Linked DNA regions of Homo sapiens: region 1 is linked to region 2. Evidence: promoter capture Hi-C in human tissues and cell types (Jung and others, 2019). All regions are on one chromosome and are shown on one strand. The core of a region is centred on a gene start or on the middle of the fragment in contact, and the rest is flanking DNA. Distances in the headings are between cores, read along the strand shown. Region 1 overlaps POLR3B (RNA polymerase III subunit B). Region 2 holds the start of RIC8B (RIC8 guanine nucleotide exchange factor B).

What was found. The method cuts DNA at HindIII sites, captures the fragments that hold promoters and counts their contacts. A contact is called where the count stands out against the background at its distance.
Region 1: a fragment that was not itself captured here is called in contact with the fragment with the promoter of RIC8B in region 2 in 1 of the 25 tissues and cell types used here (IMR-90 fibroblasts).

What each region holds. Positions count from the first base shown.
Region 1 is chr12:106,448,228-106,452,886 of GRCh38, forward strand. The region is part of intron 19 of POLR3B (RNA polymerase III subunit B); the gene reads left to right. Among named protein-coding and RNA genes, the nearest start is that of POLR3B, 93 kb to the left of the region's middle. The HindIII fragment of the contact is 7,589 bases long and covers 1-4,659 here.
Region 2 is chr12:106,772,726-106,777,164 of GRCh38, forward strand. RIC8B (RIC8 guanine nucleotide exchange factor B) reads left to right here and starts at 1,957. Exons shown (of 10, transcript NM_001330145.2): 1 at 1,957-2,104. The coding sequence starts at 2,021. LOC100287944 (a long non-coding RNA gene) reads right to left here and starts at 2,106. Exons shown (of 4, transcript NR_040246.1): 1 at 1,965-2,106. RefSeq lists enhancers at 1,106-1,657, 2,428-2,477 and a silencer at 1,868-2,097. The HindIII fragment of the contact is 14,135 bases long and covers 1-4,439 here.

The DNA.
Region 1 (4,659 bases), core at 1,590-4,089, 320 kb before region 2:
TGTTAGCGATGAATATATACATATATATGGAGGTAAAATTGAGTACACTAAGTTTAGTATGTAGGTTTGAGTGGGAGGTAGAATGGATAATATTACAGGGTAATAAGGTATGTATTTTTATTATTACTAATATTGTTAATATTGGTCATAAATAATGTTGCCACTTACTGAGTATCCAAATTCTTTACATACGTTATTTCTTTTTTTTTTTTTTTTTTTTTTTTTTTTTGAGATGGAGTCTTGCTGTCACCCAGGCTGGAGTGCAGTGGCACGATCACAACTCACTGTGACCTCCACTTCCTGGGTTCAAGGAATTCTCCTGCCTTAGCCTCCTGAGTAGCTGGGACTACAGATGCACACCACTATGCCCAGCTAATTTTTTTTTGTTTTTTAGTAGAGACAGGGTTTCACCATGTTGGCTAGGCTGGTCTCGAACTCCTGACCTCAGGTGATCCACCTGCCTTGGCCTCCCAAAGTGCTGGGATTACAGGTGTGAGCCACTGCACCCAGCCCATTTTTTTTTAATTACAATAATAATCCTTTGAAATATAATACATACTTTTTTTTGTTCTGACAAGGAAGCTGAATCCCAGTTTTGTTGAGTAACATATAAAAGGTTTTCTATGTCTTCTATGTAATGTTACCTATAAAACTTACTAACATTCTTCTCAACCAAAACTAACTTCTTTTCTCATTTTTTTCCTGTCCATTGTGGATCACGATCAGGCTGCCTTTTCTGGTAGAATGTAAATTATAAGCCCCTCGAAGTCAGGAGCTCCGTTACTTATTACAGGTTGAATATCCCTTATCTGAAATGCTTAGGACCAGGAGTGTTTCAGATTTTGGATTTTTTTGATTTTGAAATATTTGCATATACATAATAAGATATCTTGGGGATGGGACCCAAGTCTAAACACGAAATCCGTTTAAGTTTCATATACACTTTATACGCATAGCCTAAAGGTAATTTATACGATATTTTTAATAATTTTGTACATGAAGCAAAGTTTGACTAAGTTTTGACTACAACCCATCACCTGAGGTCAGGTGTGGAGTTTTCCACTTGTGGCGGCATGTTGGCGCTCAAAAAGTTTCTGGTTTAGGAGCATTTTGGACTTTGGATTTTTGACTAAGGATGCTCAACCTGTGCTGCAGTTGACTCTTGAACAACACAGAGGTTAGGAGCACCAACTCCTCTCACAGTTGAAAATCTGTGTATAACTTTTGACTCCCCTAAAGCTAACTACTAATAGCCTACTGTTGACTGGAAGCCTTACCAATAACAGTCAATTAACACTTATTTTGTATGTGATATGTGTTATATACTATATTCTTACAATTCAAATAAGCTAGATAAAAGAAAATGTTATTAAGGAAATGATAAGGAAGAGAAAATATATTTATTGTTCTTTAAGTGGAAATGGATTATCATAAAGGTCTTTATCCTCGTCATCTTCACACTGAGTAGGCTGAGGTGTAGAGGAAGGGAGAGATTGGTCTTGCTGTCTCAGGGGTAGTAAAGGCAAAAGAAAATCCATATATGAGTGAGCCCTCGCAGTTCAAATCCATGTTCAAGGGTCAACTGTATATCCTTTGTGTCTAGCATAGTGCCGGCTTAGTAGGGAATATAGTAAGTCATGTTTCAAAAATGAATGAATGAATGAATCTCTGAGAATATTAAAATCATTAAGGAATCAGGGGTAGATTTTTGAAAAGAATTTTGAAACAAAGAATAAGTTGGAGGATTTATACAACCTGATTTTGATTTACTATAAAGCTACAGTAATACAGTATGATGTTGACAGAAGGGTAGACATATAGGTCAATGGAATTGGCATCAAGAGTCCAGAAATAGACTCAAACATTTATGGGCAATTGATTTTCAATGAATGTGTCAAAGCAATCCAGTGGAGAGTAAAGTCTTTTCAACAAAATAAATATCTGTATACTTATATGGAAAAAAGGAACATTAGCTCCTACCTCATAGCATATGAAAATTAACAAAAAATATATTATAGCCCTAAATGTAAGAGCTAAAACCGTTACTCTTGAAGAAGGAAACCTAGGTGAAAACCTTCATAGCTTGAGTTGAGCTAAGATTTCCTTACATAAAGAGTACAAAGTATAAAAATTGATCTTCTCAAAATTAAACTTTTGCTCTTGGAAAGATACTGTTAAGAATATGAAAATGCAAACCATAGAATGGGAGAAAGTATTTGCAATACATATATCTGATAAAGGATTTGTATTCAAGTATATATAAAGAACACTTCAATAGTAAGACAACCCAATTAAAAGATGGACAAAATAAAAACAAAAACCAAGCACTTCACAAAGTTTTGGCATGACCAAATAAGCACATGAAACTGTGTTCAGCATTATTAGTTATCAGGTAAATGCAAATTAAGACCCCTATAAGATACTACTACACACTCAGAATGATTAAAATTAAAAAGACTGACCTACTAAGTGTTGGTGAGGATGTGGAGCAACCAGAATGCTCATATACTGCTGGTGGAAATGTAAAGTGGTATAATCACTCTGGAAAATTCTTTGGAATGTTCTTAAAGTTAACTATACCCTTGCCAAACAACCCAGAAATTGCATTCCTAGGTATTAAATATTTACCCAAGTAATGAAAAAACATACAAAGACTTGTACATGAATGTTTATAGCAGTTTTATTCACAGTAGCCAAAAACTGCGAAACGATGCAAATATTCATCAGCAGGTGAATGGATAAACGAAGTGTATATTTATACAATACTAAGCCATAAAAAGAATGAAGCATAATATTCAACCATATGCATAAATCTCAGGATCATTATGCTAAATAAGCAGATACTGTATAACTCCATTTATATAAAATTCTAGAAAATGCAAACTAATCTGTAACAATACAGAACAGATCAGTGGTCCCTGAGGTGAGGAACAAAGGGAGGGATCTTTTGGGGGTTAGGAATGTTCTGAATCTTGACTATAGTGGTGGTTTCACAGGCAATTTATAGTGCAACCTTGATAAAAAGTTCTGATATATGTATATCAGAACTCATTAATTTGTACACTTTAAATGGATGAAGTTTATTGTATTCAATAATGTTGATTTAAAAGAAAATTGAGGCCAGGTACTGTGGTTCATGCCTGTAATTTCAGCACTTTGGGAGGCTGAGGCAGGCGGATCACTTGAGGTTGAGGAGTTCACCTGGCCAACATGGTGAAACCCCATCTCTATTAAAAATACAAAAATTAGCTGAGTGTGGTGGTGCAAGTCTGTAATTCCAGCTACTCGGGTGGCTGAGGCACAAGAATCAGTTGAACCCAGGAGGCAGAGGTTGCAGTGAGTCGAGATTGTAACACTGCACTCCAGCCTGGGTGATGGAGTGAGACTCTGTTATTTAAAAAAAGGCGGGGGGGGAGGAGAGGGGAGGGAAGGAGAGGGGAGGAAATTTGGCAAAGGAAGATAGGAAAAAATAGCTAAATGCATAAAACTTCATTTTAATTTTTTCAGCATACATTTTCTAAGCTGTTTACATCCTTCCTTACCAAGCTTTTTCATGCTGCCTTATAAAAGAGCACTTTTTCAATATTTTAACTTACATTTGTTTACCTTGTAGTGCCAGCTTGTGACTTAAGAAAGTTGTTATCAAGAAAATAGGGCTTTTTAGAAAGATTATGCCTTAGTAAGTAAAGGGAATCATTGGAGACCATAGTACAGCAAAATGGGATAATAGAAGTAGAATGCAACTTATAGATATTCTCCTTGTGTTATTTTATATGTGTGTATATATATGTAACGCCCTTTTTAAGGAAGCTGAAAATACTAATAGGGGAATCAAAGTTTGAGCGTGTGCTGCACACAGGCAAGCCCTATCATTTGCTTGCCTGTTGCTTATTGGCAAAATGGTTAGTCAGCCATTCATTATTTTTATAAACATTTGGGAATCTGATAGCATTTTGAAGTTTTATGATATAGAATAGTTTATAAATTCTATTTTAACATTTTAACTTACACACCCATAGTCAGTGCTGCTAAAAATGCACGTACATGTATACTCTCACAAGTTCTTTAAAAGGCCTTTAGAGAAAACTTTTTGATGTCATAAGCACTAAACATTTGCTAAACTATTTTGCTGTTCATCCATTCAGTGGTCAGTTGTAATGCCTGAGAATTATGTTCTGGGCCTGGTAGCACAATTTATAGCAGGATCCAGTCTCTTTCACCATTGTTTAGAGGTGCAGCCATTTATGCTTCCCTGCTGCATAATAATGCGTGTCTCAGGTTTCAGAAGACATGTTTGGCAGCCTGGTGGGACATTGCCTGAACCCTTGTCTCCAGCTGAGTAAGGTATACAATTGGAACTGAAATCTCAACATAAATTTTAAGTGATTTCATAAAAAAGGACAAACTTATTGTCAGTGAACTTTACCATAATCCCAGCAGTAGTAATCTTATTTCTAAAACAGTAAGTGATCTATTGCCAGGTATCCTGCCCAGTTTATTAGTTGGCACTAAAATAACATAAATCAATTGGCAATTTATAGTGCAACCTTGATAAAGTTCATGAGTTTCAGTTTGACTTGTTTTTCAGCTGAATCTTTTTAAGTTTTTAGAGATTTAAGCACATACTGTCATAAAAAGTATAATAGAATTCTTCAATTT
Region 2 (4,439 bases), core at 707-3,206:
AGTATTAAAAAGTTCTGTAAACTGTTAAAAACAATTGCAAGATGTTACTATTAGCTTAGAAAATTAGCTAACTATTCCATGACCTTACTAAAATGTGCTTTTTGGAGAGATGGATTAAAATCTTTCTGACTTAATTTATTACAGAGCACCTACCCCAATGCCTGACTCAAATATGCTCAATAAATGTTTGCTGCATGGAAAGTATAATATACAGAAAGACCAAAAGCTCCATAAACTCAGGTCCCATGTTCGTTCTTATTTCCGAATTCCCAGTATCTAGCAGAATATCTACCACAGCATAGAAGAAATTCAATCATTAGATAAATAAACTTTTGCCCCCTCTAGTTCCTCTTCAGCACAGCTCAAGAGGGAGAGACTGGTAGGGGAGACATCAAGGATGATTATGGGTAAAGGCTGCTTGGAATGGAAAACTTGAAATTACTTGGAGAATTCATCCACTTTCCATCAAAAAAAAGCTTGGGAGAGCAGAAAGAGCACAGGCTCTGAGTTCAAATTCAGTTTCCAAAAATCTGCAATTTTGATAAATTAACCAACTAACCTCTCCAAGACTCAGTTTCCTCATCTTAAAATGAGAATAACTCATATGGGTGCTCACTAGAATGGAAGCTCCATGAAGGCAGGGACTTTACTTTGGGCCCACTGTATCCACACTGCATTTAACAGCACCTGGGCACAGCACAGGCTCTCAAATATTTGTTGAATGAATGTGTATGAAATTGATTGAGCTAACACAGGTGAAGTATTAACAGAGTGCCTGACACGTAATTACCACCGGGGCAATGGGAATCTTTGTCATCACCACCACCGCTACTGTATCGGTATTATTACAGTTCCCGGAGGTCGTAGAGCGGCCGCTTCGGGGGGAAAGGCCTGGTTTCAAACCTCGACTTTCCCATTCTCTGGCCGTGTGACTTAGGATAAATTACTGAAACTATTCGGGTTCCTTTTTATTTCCACAAAAATTTGTGTTGGGAGAATTAGAGGATATAGGGAAATTACCTAAGAGAGTCTGGAGCCCCGGTGGCACGAGATGCATGCTAGAGATTAGTATTAAGGCAGAAAATCGCCGAGTCCTCTTTTATCCAGATAACTGCCTTCAATTATTTCCCACATTACTGTAGCTGAGTACATAACAAGAACGCAAATAAGGGTGGAAGGAATTCCCGAGACCGAAACCGCTAAATGAGAAAAGGGAATTAAACCGTGCTTGACAGTTCCCACCAAGGGATGGCAGTTTCCGCGACCGTCGGCCAGTCCAGCCAGCCCAGCCAGCCGAGACTGAAGCAGGACAGTCAGCGACATAACGAACAAAACCGAAGCAGACGCTTAGACCCTCCCTCTAACGGTCTCCCCGCCGCTGGCCTCAGGCGGCCGCCAGACTCCCGTTTCCGGCCCTCGCGGTACCACAGTTCCCAGCATGCCCTTGGCGGGAATTCTTTCCGGCTGGATGACTACCAATCCCAGCATGCCATTCGGCACGCCAGTAAATTAGATGGAAGAGCGGGATAGCCCCATTGCATGCAGGGAATTGCAGTCCATTTAGCGGCTGGTTCATAGATGGGCGGGGAAGAGCCGGGTTGCTCTAGTCCTTTGAGAATGATTCATAGAGGAGGGTCAGGAAAGAAGAACGGTTCAGTCTGTGAAAGCCCCCTTAAAAGACTGGACAGTTCTCCGAGGGAGGGAGAGGCAGGAGAGCAAGCAGGGCCTTGGGCCTGACTCCGCCTCGGTCCGCTAGCCAGGCCTCGACCGAGTCCTGGGCCTTGTCAGGGGCGGCCGTGAGGCGCCGGTTGCTGGGGGAGCGGTGACGTCGCGGGGTGAAAGTTGAGGGGCGGTGACGTCGGGCCGGCCCGGGCGGAGGCTGGCGGGTTGGAGGCAGGACGGAGGGAGGGAAAGAGGGAAGGAAGGAAGCTGGGAAGGAGCGAGCGGGGGCGCGAGGCGTTTACCTGGAGGCAGCGGCTTGGGCGCGCAGAGCGGCCGCGGCTCCCCCGCACCTGCGGCCATGGATGAGGAGCGCGCCCTCTACATCGTCCGGGCCGGCGAAGCAGGGGCTATCGAGCGGGTCCTGAGGGATTACAGCGACAAGGTAAAGAGTCCTGGCCCCGGGCGTGCGGTATCGCACCCCCGGGCCGCCCTCCGTGCTTGCACATCGCATCCTTCCCCACCCCCCTCATTCCGGGGATGCGCATTGCTCTCCCCCGAAAACGTTTCCGGCTTGGGCATGCGTGTTTGTGCCCCCAGCCTTTTCCATCCATGCATCCTGCATCCCACTACCCCCACTGTAGCGCCCACTCCTCTGATTCCTGGCCCAGCAGCTTGACCTCCGGTCCTCCTCTCAAGCGTGCAAGTCACACCCCCGGAATCCGTAGATGTGCATCTGTGCCCCGTGCCCCACTCCTGGATGCATAAATGCATGAGAGGCTTCCTCACCTGTATAGCATAAAAATACGTGCTTCCCTGCATAAACACGGCCCTTGACATGCATCAAATGTATCAGCAACGATGGCAGTTTCTATACGTTTAGCACTGTACGGTTTTCAAGGCATTGATGTCTCATCTATGGTCTCCTTTGATCCTCAGAGTGTTTATAGGGTAGATGGTATCATCCTCCCCATTTTATAGATGAGGAAACCGAGGTGCAAAGAGCTGAAATCACGCCCAAGGTCATGGACATATAATGTTGTAAGTGGGTGGAGAATGTAACTCCTAATGATACCTGTTATTTGTATCGCATTAACAGCTTTCCTATCCATTATCTTATTTAATCTTACAGCAATCCTGTGAGGTATTATCTGCATTTTGCAATTGAGACTCTAGATTGGTTAAGTAACTTGCCCAAGGTCATACTTGGAGCTGGTATTCCAGTTTAGTTCTTTCCACTTCACAACTCTGCGTAAAAGAGTATCTTGTTATAAATCCCAGTCACTTCTCAGAACCTCTTTCCAAGAACCGTTAGCTCTTCATTACTTTTCCTTCCAGGAATTTTACATGCTCACTTCAAAAGATAGCCTACCACACCTTTATCCTTTGGTTTAGAAGACTGCTTTATAGGAATGACTGGCGACTCCCTTCTGTGAAAACACACCCAACACCAAGTCACAACCTAGCTGTTAATGTTTTTCTTTCTTTTGCCCCCGTACATCGTCTCCCCTTCAGTGTTTGCTTTGTGTCCACCACTGCATCCATCCACTTTGTATTACTGACAATTGGTGTCTTATTTTTGAATCTTTTCCACCCGGGGCAGAAATGGCATACTGGTGGCTGAATTCCCGTTTAATCTTCCCAACAACCCTGGGAGGAGAGTGATGGTATTCCCCAATTCACAAATGATAAAATTTAGAATGATAATGTGGTCCCAAGTCCACACAGCCACTGAGAGATAGAGCTGAGATTTGAATTTACGTTGTCCAACTCCAAGTCCAGCGAGCGCTCTTTCTGCCGTACTGTGTTGCTTTCCTTGGGAAGATTCATAGGTTCTATCTATTCATATCTTAGCTCCTTCACTTTCTGATACACTTTATTGTTGAACATGTCTGCCTAATTTAGGAATAACTCATTCAATGCATAGTTGTACATATTGTGGAGATTATGATTTAACCCGATTTATTACTGCTTTCCAGAAAAGATATAAGGCAGCTTCAAACTGATTTTCAGAAGCAAGAAATGCAAAGAGAACTTGGCCATTTGTTGAATCAACTAATGTTTATTTAGCACTTACTATATGCCAGATACCCAGCAATAAATAGGAATTTGTTTCTGTAGGGGAGGAAGGAGGAAAAACCTTCAACTGGATATAATCACGTTCTTTAATATTTCTCCTTCCCTTTATGGCTAAACTAATTAGACTCCAGATTTGCTTCCTCCAATTTATCTCTTCTCATTGGTCTCCCTCCAGATTGGTATCTACTTACCACTCCTGGCCAGGTGCTGTCAGAGCTTAAATCCTGAACATCTCCAGCTCCCCTTTTGTATTGGGAATGTTTTTAAGGTTGTTTTGCATGGTGTGTCTTGCTTAAGGTGGTATCTGAAGTGTTTCAAAAGATTCCCAAACCCTTGTAATTTTGGGATCAAGCCTGAGAGTGCTCTGACTAGATGTGAACTGGGTCAGTTAGCTCTTTCAGAAGAAAGCGCTCCCTTCTTTTTTGGAGACAGGGTCTGTATCTGTCACCCAGGCTGGAGTGCACTGGTGCAATCACGGCTCACTGCAGCCTCCATCTCCTCCCCCCCACCGACCCTCCCAAGTAGCTGAGACTACAGGTGCGTGCAACAGCACTGGGCTAACTTTTTAAATTCATTTTTTGTAGAGATGGGGTCTCACTGTGTTGCCCAGGCTGCTCTCAAACTGCTGGGCTCAAGCAGTCCTCTCACCTTGGCCTCCCAAAGTACTGCGATTATAGGTGTAAGGTACTGTGCCTGGCGAG